Linked DNA regions of Homo sapiens: region 2 is linked to region 1. The links are contacts of gene promoters, found by promoter capture Hi-C in blood cells and fetal thymus (Javierre and others, 2016). All regions are on one chromosome and are shown on one strand. Each heading gives the region's core, a stretch centred on a gene start or on the middle of the fragment in contact. The rest is flanking DNA. Distances are from core to core; before and after follow the strand shown.

Region 1 (2,700 bases), core at 152-2,651:
TTCATGGTATCCCTTATTACACATATGTAGATAACTGAATCATATTGAATTCTCATCAATGAGATGCAGGCATTTGATCATGATTACCAACAAATATTGGGTGACTTCAAAAGTTACTTCAAATCACTTTTGTTTCTCTTCAATTCCATTTTTCTTTTATGTATATCTATAACCATATTGTTCTAAATAGTATTTTTTTCTCTGCAGATTCCTGATATAACTATCAACTAGTTTGCTACCTTATGCTTGTTGGCATAGACACAAGAATCCACATTTTATAAGGGGATCAAGCTAATTCCTGATTCTGATATTTTAATGAATAAAAGTCTGTAAATTTAGTAGACTTCCACTACCTGTAGTTTGAATAACAAAAATCTCTGAGGCCCCCAAAAGTTTGTCTGAATCGCAAACTTCATATGATTTTGAAACCTATTCCTATATATATACACCAATTGTTTCATAATAATTGCCTAATACATCACAACCAAAACCCTAGCAATATAAAACCACCACAAACATAGCTGAATATGAGACCAATGGATTTATTGGATTAAAATGATTTGACTTTTTATACAATTGTGGAAGAAAATCGAATAATATAAATTCTACTTTTAATGTGTATTTCAAGATTTATTTTGAGCTAGTTCTCCAATTACAGTTTTTCAGATGAAGCCTGCCAGCCAGTATTTGGGGACAAAGACAAACTGAGAACTTGATAATTATAGAATAAGAGGCTAATTCTTTCTGTACATGATGAAGACAATAAAGGTTATGAGTAGAGGCATTGAAGGCATTAGCCAACAAAATCAGCAATTTAACAAGATGATCAATAGTAGAAGCCTGATCCACAAGTTGGTCTGTAGCAAGAAGACTGGCAGCTCCTAGAAGCCAAGTAGGTTGGGCGGCAGAATCCAACGCCATAGCCCAGGGAAGGGAAGCCACAGCCTCCATAACCCAGGGATCTGAAGCCACTGGACCCACAGCCCACTGAGTAGCAGCTCCTCGATCCATAGCCCAGGGAGCGGCAGCTGCTGGATCCAAAGCCTAGAGACCCAGAGTAAGTTGTCTGGCAGGGACTGCAGAGCAAGGAGGTTCTGGGACGGTAGCAGGAGGTCTGGCAGGGGCTGGACTCCACATAGGATGTCTGGCAGCTGGTGGGCTCCCAGCAGGTCTGCTGACAGCCCCTATAGAGAGAGGAACCCAGCTGGCACGTGCTGGGAGAGCAGAGGTCAGTGCTGTAGACCTGGTTGCTGGGGTAGGAAAAGCCACAGGAGGAGGCTGGGTAGTGCAGGTAGCCACCACAGGAGCGGGAGGAGAAGTTTCCAGAGCAGCAGTTGTAGGACATGTTGATGGGAGATGTGAGTTCAGCTGAGTTACACTGAGAAGATTCTGAGTTTGCATGCCACATCTGGACAGGACCATTTATATACGTTCAGCCGTGGGTGTGGCACCTTACAGGGTCATCCTTCACACATTTAAGCTCCCACATTTCATATAAGCAACTTAGTAATCTTCTTTGTCATTGCAGTTAACTAACACCCTTCATCTTATATTTATGGAAGAACTCCTTTTGTTTTTACAGCTCTGCGTCAATGAAATGCATTTATGTTACAAATGCTATGACAGTATGTGATTAGTCCCTACTCCATTATGTCCAGGAAAACCCCTCTTATTTTCTCTGCCCATGATTTATACATCTGCTCCTGTTTTGGCTGGGAAATTCTTTCTGTCTTGGGTGGGGATAGCAATGTATTCATCTTTTTTTGTCAGTGGCCTAGAGGCAGAAATCTTATTGTTCACACTCTCCAAAATAGTTTGCCATCTGTTATTTACTATAATCAGTGCTTGTAAGTCCAGTCTCGAGGGCCTATATAAAAGTAAGCCAAAGGAATTGAGAGATAACTAGACATAGATATCATCTTGAACAAATTTTTTTAAAAAATTAGTATTTAGAAAAAAGAAATCAAAACAAAAGCAAAAAATAAATAAATACAAATACAACAATAAGGACCCATGTGAAAAAAAGGAAAGTAGAAGACACTGCTGAGATGAGGTAGGAAACAAGTCAGAGTAGTCACAATAGCAGAAGGATGCTCAGGACTCCATCCTAAAAGCAAATCAAAATGCTTTCAAATAAACTTATTTGATGACTTTTGTATGATGCATTCATATTTGTAAGTGTTCTGGAGCCTACCTGTCTACAACACCTCTAAACCCCCACCTCAAAATGTTGACTGCCTTCTGAGCATTTGCGGGGTAACACCAGCTTCTATGTTTTTCGTGACTCTGTCCCAGCCCTCTTTAAAGAGGTGGATTTAGGTTTTGTGGTGTTGAAAAGTATAATTTGGAGATCCTCATTAAAAACACAATATTAGGAATATAATAATAGATATAAACATGGATATTAACTTAGAATAAAAACTTCCATAGTTAACAAAACCCAAGATGTCACAAAATCAAGACAATAATATACCTTTATCATCATCCTCATCTATAATCTTTTTCTACATTTTTTGGTTGCATAGTCGGTCTTTGATCATCTCTACACATGACAATGGTTTTGTCCACATGATTTTCTGTAGAACAAATGGAAGTAAAACTTGGTGTTTCTTTTAGAAATAGTACATCAAAAATACTTGAATTATTTTTTATGACACAGAAAAGTTTTTTTTTTTTAACATTGCCATTTGTTGTGAGCAA
Region 2 (2,700 bases), core at 196-2,695, 620 kb before region 1:
TTATATTTTGGTATAAGCTCCTGACCTCATCAGGGACCAGTAACAAATAGTTTGAGGCCCAGTACTTTCAGTAGCACCACTATAGGGGATTGCTGTGGTTTAAATGTATGCATCCCTCCAAAACTCGTATGTTGGAATGTAAACCCCAAGGTGATGATATTAAAAGGTAGGCCTTGAGAGGTGACTAGGTCGTGAAAGCTTCACCCTCATGAATGAGGTGTTAACCACCTCAAAAACCACTATAAAAGGGATGGAAGGAACTAGCTGCACCCCTTTTTGGCCTTCCATTTTCTGTCGTTTGAAGACACAGCATTCATCTCTTCTGCCAGGTGTGGATGTAGGAACAGGGTGCCATCTTGGAAGCAGAGAACAGCCCTCACCAGGCATGGAATCTGCTGGTGCCTTGATCTTGGATTTCTCAGCCTCCAGAACTGTAAGAGATGTATTTCTCTTTTTGTAAATTACTTAGTCTCATTTTGTTATAGCAGCAAAATCAAACTGAGGCTGATATATAAAACAGACATGGTATGATTTCTGCTCCCAAGAGCTTACATTTTAATTGAAGAAATATAATGTGAAATTTTAAAGCAAGAATAGCAACAACTAGATCACAAGAAGATAAACATGCAGGTCAGTAAAAAGAATAAAGGAATTAAAATGCCTCTTAACTGTTAGTCCAATTCTCTAAGTTTTGCAGATCAAGAAACAAAGGCTTGGACAGGCTATTTTAAGCAAGTCTTAATAAGGCAAAAACATTTTCATGGAAACAAAATGTTAGAAGTACATTTAAAAGTATGACTGGACGTTAACTGTGATTTGAACATTCACAACAGTTATAGGTGAGCATAGGTTCCACAAGGAAGTTTTCTGGTCTTTATTTGTAGATTTAATAAAATCCAAAAGTTTGTTTTGTTTGTTGGTTCATTTTGAGATGGAGTCTTGTTCTGTTGTCCAGGCTGGAGTGCAGTGATGCAATCTCGGCTCACTGCAACCTCCACCTGCTGGGTTAAGCAATTCTCCTGCCTCAGCCTCCCGAGTAGCTGGGATTACAGGTATATGCCACCATGCCTGGCTAATTTTTGTATTTTTAGTAGAGATGGGGTTTTGCCATGTTGGGTAGGCTGGTCTGGAACTCCTGGCCTCAAGTGATCCTCCTGCCTCAGGCTCCCAAAGTGCTAGAATTATAGGCATGAGCCACCACGCCTGACCCAAAAGTTTATATGATGAAATATAACATTAGCATATAAATAAAATATATTTCTGCAGTCTATACATCTTTGCCCTACTTAAAAATTCTAATTTGCCAGATGTGGTGGCTCACACCTTTAATCCCAACACTCTGGGAGGCAAAGGTGGGAAGATTGCTTGAGTCCAGGAGTTTGAAACCAGCCTGGGCAACATAGCAAGACCCCATCTCTACAAAAAATTAAAAAAAAACCTAGCCAAGTGTGGTGGTGTGTGCCTGTAGTTTCCGCTACTTGGGAAGTTGAGTAAGGAGGATTACTTGAGCCCAGGAGGTCGAGGCTGCAGTGAGTTATGATTGTACTACTGTACTTCAGGCTGGGTGACAGAGCAAGACCCTGTCTCTCGCTAAAAATAAAATAAAATAAAATAAAATAAAATTCTAATTTATCTTATTAAAAAAAGGATTGCAAATACTTAAGAAAGGCTTTCTGAGTGTCTATTTTCTTTGAAGGGCCTCTCAGTGTACATAGTTTGCAGCAAGGCTTTCAAATATTTATTTGTTGGTTACAAATGCAATTTTAAGTAGTCTGACAATCATTCATTTTCTGAAATATTATCAACAAGAGTAGACTTACTGAAGCAGCCATTAGTAGAACTGATTATAAATATCAGGTTGTATGTACCAGATTCCTTGAACTGTCACCTCTTAGAGACGTGAGTTAAATCAGCAGATTGCTGTGGAATTAGAAAAAGAAATGAAGACATCTTTAGGAACAAAATATATGATTTGACAGTATAAATGTATGCTGTTGCAGGCAAAGGAGAAAGAAAAATCTTTACTCCAAGACAAAGTGAACACTAGTGTGGTTCATGGGCCTCCTGACAAAATATCTGCTTGGGTGCACACAAGATGGGTCACAGCTGGCAAGAGATAGAGATACCAGCACAGGAGTATTCTAGCACACTCTTACAAATGTGTTAGAGAAAACACCCGATTTACAATTCTGCTCTCTATTAGCTCCATCCTTGTCCCTGAGCTACGGGAACACACACTAAAACTCACACATCAAAATGAAATCCCAAGGAAACCTAAGTAAAATGTAAACAAAAATATAACCCTTGAGAAAGACAGCAGGTCCAACAGTCACAGTAAGGAAAGTCTGTATAATTTTTTTCAAAAGCTGTTGCTTTGTTCAATCATACTTTGAAATATTCATTAAAAAAGTTTTTTTGATCCTTTAGGACTTCTTTGGAGGAAATCTATGCAAAGATAAACAGAACAGATGAAGAAGGTGGGAGAACCATGATGGAGAGGTTTACAAGCTGATTTGTTAAAATGATCTTTTTTGATTGGAGATGAACTGTGGATAAACGAACACTGTCTGTGAGGGACTTTTCTTTTTTTCTTTTTGCACTTTCTAATCCCCTCAGAGATAAGAGGACATCTAGAGGTCTTTCTCTTCAGATTCTAACGAGGCTAAGGCAGAGAACGATTGAAGAAGCTTATATAAGCAT

The links. Contacts are between HindIII fragments. The CHiCAGO score rates a contact against its expected background, and 5 or more counts as called.
Region 2: a fragment that was not itself captured here is called in contact with the fragment with the promoter of KRTAP13-1 in region 1 in 1 of 17 cell types (M2 macrophages); the score reaches 5.5 in M2 macrophages.

What each region holds. Positions count from the first base shown.
Region 1 is chr21:30,394,732-30,397,431 of GRCh38, reverse strand. KRTAP13-1 (keratin associated protein 13-1) reads right to left here and starts at 1,401. Exons shown (of 1, transcript NM_181599.3): 1 at 610-1,401. The coding sequence starts at 1,345. The coding sequence ends at 827. All of the region lies in intron 3 of LOC105372772 (a long non-coding RNA gene), which reads left to right. RefSeq lists an enhancer at 1,044-1,545. The HindIII fragment of the contact is 9,188 bases long and covers 1-2,700 here.
Region 2 is chr21:31,014,496-31,017,195 of GRCh38, reverse strand. LOC105372775 (a long non-coding RNA gene) reads left to right here. Exons shown (of 3, transcript XR_937658.1): 3 at 2,428-2,700. Among named protein-coding and RNA genes, the nearest start is that of KRTAP19-8, 23 kb to the left of the region's middle. The HindIII fragment of the contact is 2,489 bases long and covers 201-2,689 here.